3 separate regions of the Homo sapiens genome follow, and regions 1 and 2 are each linked to region 3. The links are contacts of gene promoters, found by promoter capture Hi-C in human tissues and cell types (Jung and others, 2019). All regions are on one chromosome and are shown on one strand. Each heading gives the region's core, a stretch centred on a gene start or on the middle of the fragment in contact. The rest is flanking DNA. Distances are from core to core; before and after follow the strand shown. Region 1 overlaps LOC105371986 (a long non-coding RNA gene). Region 2 has its middle 7.1 kb from the start of NAPG. Region 3 holds the start of APCDD1 (APC down-regulated 1).

Region 1 (3,004 bases), core at 379-2,878, 83 kb after region 3:
GAGAGATGACAGTTTAAACCAAGAGAAGTCGGCTGGAGATGGAAGAGTAGATTTGATGGCTACTTAGGGAAAAGCAATTGATGGGACCTGCAGCTTGGTTAGATGTTGAGGGGAAAGAAGAGAGAAACCTCTGAGGCTTCTGCATTAGGTAAATGGGGGAAGGCGGTGAGGTTATCCATAAGAGGGAAAATGCATGGAAAGCCAGTTTATGGAGCAGGAGGACGTGTTCCGTTTTGACATGCTTGACTCGAAGTGTTTTGGAGACACCCAAGAAGGGGACCCAGTGAGCGTTAGGGGAGGGTCTGTCATGCCCAGAAGAGAGTTATTAGCTCTCAGGTGGCAGCAGAAGCCAGGGGGTTGAACCAAATCACACAGAAAGATTGGATGCTGTGAGAAAATAAGGCCACAGATGAAGTCATAATGAATCCCAACATTTTATGACATGGACCCAGGAACAGAAGACCGCAAAGTGGGCTGGGATCTGTGAGCCCAGAAAAGCAACGTTCCACCAAAGTCAAGGGAGGCTGGAATGTCAAATTGGAGGTGTCTAGGAGTGTCAAATATTGCAGAAGGTGTTAAAAAGGACCGAAAAGTGTCTGCTGAGATTTGCTATCCAGAAGGTAATTAAAACTTGATGACAGTACTTCCAGTTGAGAATTAATTGCCTCCAAGTGTTATTCACAAAGATTCTGTGAGGCTGGATGGGCGGTGGCCATTCGTAAGGCTCATCTTTTAAAGAAGTTTAACATTGAAATTCTACATATCTCTGTTTCATAGAAATATGTATATATGTATAAAATCTCTAGTAACATCTTCGTTTTCTAGCCAAGTTATGTTTCAGTTCAATATTATTAAGATGTTATTTGTTTTTTACTTCCCTCCAAATTGAAGTGTGGTTAAAATTGGTGTGACGCATGTCAAGCTAGTGCCGATCACGTTTAGGAATTAGGCTCAGCTCTAAATGAGTAATGCTAATGTTTGTTGAAATCTTGAAGCCCTGACTTTCTGTTCAGAAGAAGAGCAGTGAACTCCATCTCCTCTTTAACTGTTTGGGCCACTGCTAGGGCCCTGCAGCCAGCAATCCCACAGTCTCTCCTGCTGGATTAAGTGGCGATGCCTGACACGGCCTGGTATTTGGGGTGGGGAGGTAGGAAATAATAAGGAGTGATTTCATTTGTTTCTACAAATTACAGCTGGTGTGCTGAGTCCTTCCTTGGGGCCTTGTGTCAAGGGCTCGGGACCCTGCTGGGGCAGGGGAGGCAGCTCCTGCTCAATTGCTATCAGTGATGAGTGTGACATGTGCAATGTACAAGTCCCCTAAATGTTTACATGCCATGATGAGGCATTTAAATAGGTAAAAAATTAAAATCTATACTTTTTCTGTCTTTAAAGCACAGCTCAAAATGGCCTCTGCAGAATAAATGGAATGAGCTAGGTGTGGAACTCCAGGCACAGCGGTCAATTAAGGGCTGTTCATTAACATTTCAAGCACTGCAGATAGGTGGGTCTTAGCAGCTGGAGTTAAGTAGTGTGTTCTGATAGATATTCCTATTGTGAATTCTTCATTGGTTACTATAATCTTTACGGAAGCCTAAACCACTTCTCAAATAACTTCACCTTACATTGTTCCAAAAAGAAAGAAAAGCTATCTATTCGAAGCTAGTTTAAAGAACAATTATTTGCCTGTGACCTGCCCTGGGAGTGTGCCTCTATGCTCAGCTCACGTGCATTTGCAGACACATGCCCACAGGCTGCCAGGATCTGAAATCCACAAATGGGTCCTTAAGTCATAACTGACGACAAATGTGTAACCAGATTAAAATCTCGCGACATTTCTTAAACTGCTTTTACTGTAGCTCTGGAAACGTTGGTTTCAAAAATCAGTCGTGTCACTGTCACTCTTGGAATTCGAGAGCCCAGAGTCTAAAAGCCAGAAAGGTTGTTCAGAGCTTGGTCTCTGGCCTCTAGAGCTTTCCCAACATGGGATGGGCACACGCCTCAGGCACAGATGACTTCACTCCCCAAAGACTGAACCAGAGAACTCCAAGGTTCAACTGATCATCTGCCTTATTTTATCCATTAGTCTACTTTCATTTGTTAGAAGAGACACAGTTTCTTTTTATCTCTGTCTTCTCCTGACTAATTCTATTAGATCAGCCCTCAAATACATCATGTGATTTGTACAGGGATATCATTTTTATTCTTTTTTTTTTCGGTCCCCTTTCACGTACCTCTAATCATTTTTATCCTTGAATGGCATAAGTCAAACTTTTGAATTTTCTAATAGAATGCCTTTTTTTAAATTAAAACTTGCCTTTTGACTTCCTATTTACTTATTTATTTTTATTGTTAGATAAAGCAGATAAAATGTATTGACAATTTAAAATTTTGAAAAACACAGTGCAGAAGTTTGGCCTCATGGACATATATTAAACCTGGGCTTTATTTCACATTTTTCAGCACATATGGAACAATTGAAATGATTTGATCTCTAGAAAAATGTTAAGAAATGTTAAATATTTTAATCATAAAGACTAACTTTGGCATTAATCATATTTTTAAATAGTATATTAGGTGACTTTAGATATTAAGAAATTTAAACTGAGCAATATTTCTAAATGAATATTTAGAGTTTTTTAGACTCAAAGTCAGTGACTTTCAGTAATTTAAAAACAAAAGTGAACATGATAAATAATAGCAACTCACACAGCGCTCTCTGGACTTTACCACCCACTTTGATGTAAACTGAGTAAAGCTTGTTAGAATCATGCTCAGAAAAGTTGGAAGCTTTGAGATTTTAAAAGTTTGAGAAAAAACTGAAAGTGGGTTTTCTCTTCAGTATTAATGCAAACATTTTCTGAGGCAGTTGTGTTTTTGACTGGAGTTGTAAGGACTTTACGGCAGGATGCAAACTTTAGGGGCTCCCAGGGCTGTTGGAGGGGGCAGTCTGCACCCTCCCTTCCCACAGGGTTCAGCTCCCATCCCAGCCTCTGGGGTCTCAAGA
Region 2 (3,222 bases), core at 341-2,840, 64 kb before region 3:
CTGCTTTGAAATTTTAATAATAATTGGAAAATGAGAGTTGGAAGTTTATTAGGTTTGACTGAAGTAAGTTGTCAAATGGCTGAGAAAGGGCCACCCCTAACAGATGCGCCAAGCATATTATACTGAGAAGTCCCACTTAGGTATACGTTGGCTGGGGAGAGTCCTGGCGTTCATTCCTTCTCCCGCGTAGCCTTATGGGTCTCTTCAGAAAACACATGGTGGCGCTGCCTGCACGTGCCTTTACAAGCTGCAAGCCGTCCAAACAAAAGTGGTTAGTTTCTGCCTCTTGGGATTACAGTCAGATTCTGGCAACATTTCGCATTCATAACTGAACTTTCCACATAAAAGCGATCTCTCTCACTGTTTTGTACACAAAGTGAGGCAGCATTGTCCGAGTACAGTAATGTTGGAAAGAGATGAAGCATTGTAAATGTTTAACAACAGATCTCTGTTAAATCCACTCTAACGAACACAACCGTTTTGATGAATATTATTTTTAAAGAGAGAGAAAAATACAGATCTTCCTTTGCAAGCTATCTTTGAATAAAAGATAAAACCAACACACTGAATTGGCTTAGTGGAAACCCGTCATGTATTTCATTAGACCACTTGCAGATAGCCTAGTGCCAACCTATAAATGTTCTCTCTTGAAAACCACATCCCATAGATATACAGCAATCATTTTCTTTCAAGGAGGATATATTCACGCAGTTACATTTTGTACAAATATAAAGTAGGCAAAATTGAAAGAATACAACATAAAACATGACTCATTAATGAAGTTTGTGAATTACTCATTCACAAACTGCATTAATGAATTTTTTTAAATAACATGTCTTCCAAATTAAGAATTCCTCAAGAAGTGCACGTTTGGAAGCTGCCAGGAATAAAGAGCTGTGGACTGGGTTTATGCTATTCATTCTTTAGGCACTCATTCAACAAGTATGTGTGGAATGGTTTCTCCATGCAGGCACTGTTCTAGGCTCTGGGAGACAGCCCTGAATGCAGCAGGGATTCACAGAGCTGACATTCTAGCACAGGGCATATGGGTGGGGTTGTGGAGTCCAGTAGGAAACTGGCTAAGGCGGTGTAGACACAGTGCTAGAGGGGGTCAACACTCAGGAAAACAAAGCAGGATGTGGGAATGGGAGGGCACCCGTGAGTGTGGGGTGAGTTTCTTCACCAGGTAGGTGACAATGAAATAAAGCTCTGAAGGAGTGGTGGCCTGAGACCTGGGATATCTGGACAAAGATAGTTGCCGATAAAGAAGGAATAGCAAATTTGTGAGGCAGAGTATGCGGGCGCCTGGCCCCACATTCCAGGGGAGAATGGGGAGGTGACGAGGTTGCAGGGGCCAAGGGTGACTTGGCTAGAAAAGCAACACATGACTCCCTTTGTGAAGATTGGATTAAAATTATGCAATGGTTGCATTAAGTTTGAAAATCTTCAGGGACACATTTCTTGCAACTTCCCTCTACTCGTGTAATTAGAAATGAATAAATGTTAATAAGGAAGCTGAAAAGGCTCTAATGGTCTAGAACGTTATATAAAGCTTACTGGAACATGACGTTCTCAAAGTGTACTAGGATTGCAAAAGCAGCCACAGGACCCTTATTTTCCAGATTCCTGTGGAGCTGAGGAGGAGGAATCACAGCCTAATGGAGGGACACATGGCAAAGGAGCATGGAGCTGTGTGCTAGCAGGTGCACAGCGGGGTCATGGCCACTGTTGTTCAGTGGGGCCACCAGATCACAGATGAACACTGCAGCCGTTTCACATGTGACTGCCCTCATCCTTCATTTCCTATCCCCCACTGCGTGGAGCCCTTGGGTCACAGTTACGGCTGGAGGAGGCTGTGGATTCAGAAACGCAGTTGTGGATAAGGAAAGGTTTAGCACTGCCCACAAATGAAAAGAGACCTTCCAGATTTAGAGAAAAGGAAAAAAGCAAACAAAACAAAATAAAAACCCTCTTTTCTCCAGCTCCCAACATAATCAGAGATGAAAGAAGACAGTTTTAGCCTGGTAAATAAGAAAATAAACAAGAGCTTGAAATGGATAAGTTTTTTCTTCTAAATTTGTTTTTGCAAAGGGTTTTTCTTCCCTGAAAAACAAAATACTAAAATAGCAAGTTGTGTTTTCATTTATAAATCCTTCTCAAGAGGAAATCTAATAATAACAAGGGGTTTCCATTGGATTCCAACTTATTTCATAATGTAAATATATTTCTATCCTCTGGGGAAAAAAGCTTCCCCAAGCCAGGTATTTATCGTTTAAATTTGTGATTTTATTCACTTCCATTTTTCCCTCTCTTTTACCTTGAACAGCCTCTCAAACTGAAGAGGAGTGTTCAGTTCTACAGCTTATTAGATAGGGCCTCTTCATTCAACGATGCAAAGTTTAGAAAGAACGTGGACGATGACTTGCTATGTTTTGTTCTACATCCAATCAGAAGAGTAGCTTGTGGCTCAAAAAGTCTTATCTTAGAAGATCAAATGTCCACATTTTAAGAGAGCGGGGCTGTATACTAGAAAGAAAAATGGATTAGAGTCAGTCATACTTTCAAACCTCAGCAGTATTTCTTATGTTATTTAAAGACATATATTATCTGGTTTCTTTGAGCTTCAGTTTCTTCTCCTATAAAATGGGAAGAATAATAATGTGGTGGATTAAAAATGGCAGCCAAATCTCTGACCCTCTTCCATTGAGAGGGGGACTCTGTCCCATCCTCTTGAATGCAGGTGGGTTTTGTGACTGCTTTGACCAAAAGAACAAGGATGTGATACTGTGCCAGTCTCAGGGCCCAATCTTCAAGGCACAGGCAGCTCCCACTTCCCATCTCTCAAAACATGAAATAGCTCTTGGAACCCTGAACAGTGCAACTCCCTTGAGGCTGCCATGATGTGAGGAAGCTCAAGCCACCCCGGTAGAGGTCTATGAGCAGAGAAGCAATGGCCAGCTGCCCCGCATCTCCCAGCTGCAGCCATTAGAGCCGTCCCAGCAAAGCTTCCAACCGTGAAGCTGAGTGGAGCTCCTCTGACTGTGCCCTGTCCAAATTTTCCATCCACATCATCAGGAGATACAATAATACTGTTTTAATCCATTGAGCTTTGAGATGGCTTGTTAAGCAGCAATAGATAAACATACTAAATGCTTATGTTGTGGAGCTACTGTCAGTTTTACAAATAATACCTCCAAGGCGCCTACACAGAATGGACACATA
Region 3 (3,440 bases), core at 127-2,626:
ACAGGTTTGGGGTGGCTGTGGTGGGTGTTGAGGAAGGAGAGCCGTGAAGTCATGCTGTTGAAACGTCAGGTGTCTGACCATTAGGGACAGTTTGCTCAGGACATCCACATCAACACGACGTGATCTGCCACGGCTTGTCAGGATTATGAACCCGACGCGCCATAAAACCTGCCTTGTCCACCCCAAAGAAATTCTGTCTTGGTGTTTTCAGCGCAATTTCTGGAACCCGCTGAAAGGGCTGATGTTCTCTAGCTAAAGGTTTACTAGAACCCCTGGGGAAAAGTGGCACTGGAAGCCCAGGAAATGGGACGTCAAGTTGGGGTGCACATTGGGAGACTGGTAATAATGATTAAATCTTGGCTAATAGGGGTCCCCTGTTTCTTAAAATTACACCCAGAGAACGCAACAGTCCACTTGGGAGAAAACCCCACAACCCCGCCTCAATCGCGAGGCAAAGTGCAGGCAGACAACAAACACTAGTTTTCAGAAGGCAGACAGACGTGTCTTTCCCAAATGATCAGTTTCTCTTTCCACTCTCCTAAACGCTTGGAACACATCAAGAGCCTGCTGCATTCTGGCATTTTGGAAAAAGGCTCGCAGAGCCGGCGATTTCATGGCAGTGTACAGTTGGAAAATCCAGCAGAGCGGACGAAAGTTTCCCTCGGACTGGATGCAACGGATTCTGGACATAAAAGGTGTCTGCGTGGGAGAGCTTCCACCCTTCCAAAAAGAACAGTCCCGCAGCAAAGAGCTCCGGGCGCCCTGGGGGAGAGCGGTCCCAAGCCTCGGAAAGTGGGCAGAGCCCCCTCTCCCAGGGCTGAGACGGCAGGCGCGGGGCTCCCCTCGGACCCGCCCCGCCAAGGGGACAGTGTAGGCCGTGCCGCGATCCAGACCCGACGCCTCCGCGGGCTCCGCGGCGCCCGGGCTGCCTCCGCCGGCTGGGAGCGCTCGAGTGGCCCTCGGGAACTCACCGTGAAGCAGGAGGGCCGGGAACAGGTATCTGAGCAGGAGGCGGCGCGGCCAGGACATTTCCAGTCCTGCTCTGGGGCCTCCCGCACGCCGCGCTCCGATTTGGTGCCCGGGCAACTGGGCGCGCGCTCTGCCCTCCGCCTCCGGCCGGGTGCGGCCGGGCCAGGCCGGGGCTTCAGGCGGCTGCCGCGCGCCCCATGCCCGGCGGGCTAGGCGCGGGGCTGCGGGGCGCGCGCTCTCTGGGCGCCGTCGGGCGGCTGTGGGCGCCCCGGCCCGGTCCGCGTCCCGGCCTCTCTGCCGCCCGCCCCGACTTCTCCGCGCCCGGCCCCGCGTCCCGCCCCGGCCGCCGCGTGCGCCGCTCTGAGCTGCAGTGGCCGCCACCGCCACCGCAGCTGCAGCGTCTCTTCATATTTCCAGCGCGCCGCCGGCCGGGCAGCCTGGCCGCGGCACGGAGGAGGGGCCCTGGAGGGGGCGGTCGGGGGAGGCGACGCCGAGCCACCGCCCCCGGGCAGCCGCCGCCGGGGGGGAGCGCGGAGACTTGAAAGGGCGCGTCGGGCAACGCCTCCCCTCCTCCCACTCCGGGCGCCCCTCCTCCCCCCGCTCCCCTCCCGCTTCCCTCCTTCCCCTCTCTCGCCTACCCCTCCTCTTCCAGCTTCCTACCCCTTCCATCCTCCCCTCCTCCTCTCCTCCCTCCAGGCCCCTCTGCCTCCCTCTGGCTCTGCGCACCCCTTTCTCTCCTCCCCGTCCCCCATTCCGGGCGCGCTTCCTCCTTGGAGGGGGTGGGAGCCTTTGGCCCCGCACCCCGCCCGCAAGGAAAGAGAATGCGCGGGTCACCCTTCCGCCTCCGCCCACTCCCCTGGGGAAAGGTGTTCAAAGGGGGTGCGGGCGGCGAGGCTGGAGGCCTGGCGTGGGATCCAAGCAAAGCGGCCTGCTGAGCCGGGGTGTGTGCCAGCGCGCAGCCATGGGAGAGAGGGGAGACCAAAGAGAGAGTCCTGGAGGGTTGCTGGGGGTGAGGATGCGTCAGTGCTGGGCCCCCTCGTGGGTGCGGTGCAGGTCTTCACTACAAATCGCCTACCCCGGCCCAGTGCCTGGCTCCTCTGGGGAGCACGGAGAACCTTGTCATAGGCCCCAACCTGGGAAGGGCACGGTGTAGGAGGCAGGAGCCCGTTCACTTTTTCCTCCCCCTTCCACTAGGCAAATGACTTGTTGAAACGGGAGAAATCTCCGAGAAACGCTCCCTGTCAGTCTAAGAACGTGCACTTAGGCCCCTTCGCCGAGTCCTCTTCTCTTCCAGAGCAAATTGAATCACCACAATCAAAGCTGATTTTATTTGTGTTCGCGGTCTTGTGGGGGAGGGGGGACTACATGGGCGTTTGAGACCCAAAGGCAGGAAGAGTTTCCCCTGGGGTCCTTCGTTCTCCAATGCGGGTACAAGGCAGTGGCCATCTGATTTACCTGGAAGGTCCCTCCTCTGCCAAGGGCCTGCTTGAGCCCTTCCCCTCTTCCAGCAGTTTTCCCCCTCCTAAGGTTAATGTCACCTCTTCTCCACACTAGGATAAAGAGCAGACAGGAGACCCAGTGGAGTCTAGAGAACATTTCTTGACGCAACCGTTAGTGTTTTTCATTTAAAAAAAAGATTAAAATAAATGCCTGATTTCCCAAGAGAATTCTCTGCCCCTTTGAACAATGCAATAATTCAACTCCTTATGTGTTAGACTTTCAAAAGTAGTTGGATCTTAGCAACGGTATAATAGTAAAATAGATGAGAATACATTTGACAGTTTCCACTTTTCTTTTTTTTTTTTTAACCTGAGAAATCCATGGGTGTTTTGATGTGATAGTGCTGACGCTGTTTGATGTGTCTTAATTTTTATCACCATCATTATCATCTTTCCATCATTAATACAGAGGATCATAAGATGTACCAGCTGCTCAGCTCACACGGATGTTGTGAAGATTAATGTGCTCCTGTTTGCAAATCTTGAAGATGAAAGAATACCTGTGTGGGCAAAAAGAAGATCATGAAAACGATGCCTATGAGCGCAGGCATTATTTTGTGTTAGTCTTGCTCTGCCACATCTTTCTGAGCCTGACTTTGTACCTGATCGTTCTCTCATCCCAGTTGCTAGGCTTGGGTAGCAGACTATGATTTGTAAGATTTGAATGTTTGCCAAGGGCCAATCAAATTTTCATTTTAAACCAAGAATTTGACTTCTTCACGAATGTTGGGCAGTTGGAAACGATGTAAACAGCATACTTGGTTGGTTATGCAGAACAAAAGCCTTGTCACCAAGAACACATATGAAGTGGTGTTTAGTTTTTCAATGTCTTTTAGTCATTTGATGCCTTTTAGTCCATCAAAGAATATTTGAAACAAGCAAATGGCTAAGAGAGTGTTAGGGGTGGTGCATTTTTGTATAAGCAAATAGGTTGACAGCAATGGAAAAATGTTTAGGTTATTCATCACATAT

The links. The method cuts DNA at HindIII sites, captures the fragments that hold promoters and counts their contacts. A contact is called where the count stands out against the background at its distance.
Region 1: a contact is called between a fragment that was not itself captured here and the fragment with the promoter of APCDD1 in region 3, in 2 of the 25 tissues and cell types used here (lymphoblastoid cells and mesenchymal stem cells).
Region 2: a contact is called between a fragment that was not itself captured here and the fragment with the promoter of APCDD1 in region 3, in 6 of the 25 tissues and cell types used here (IMR-90 fibroblasts, adrenal gland, dorsolateral prefrontal cortex and 3 more).

What each region holds. Positions count from the first base shown.
Region 1 is chr18:10,369,843-10,372,846 of GRCh38, reverse strand. LOC105371986 (a long non-coding RNA gene) reads left to right here. Exons shown (of 3, transcript XR_001753347.1): 1 at 1-620; 2 at 1,393-1,501. Among named protein-coding and RNA genes, the nearest start is that of LINC01254, 43 kb to the left of the region's middle. The HindIII fragment of the contact is 3,061 bases long and covers 98-3,004 here.
Region 2 is chr18:10,517,280-10,520,501 of GRCh38, reverse strand. No RefSeq gene overlaps it. Among named protein-coding and RNA genes, the nearest start is that of NAPG, 7.1 kb to the left of the region's middle. The HindIII fragment of the contact is 4,990 bases long and covers 1-3,222 here.
Region 3 is chr18:10,452,571-10,456,010 of GRCh38, reverse strand. APCDD1 (APC down-regulated 1) reads right to left here and starts at 1,376. Exons shown (of 5, transcript NM_153000.5): 1 at 972-1,376. The coding sequence starts at 1,029. The HindIII fragment of the contact is 8,431 bases long and covers 1-3,440 here.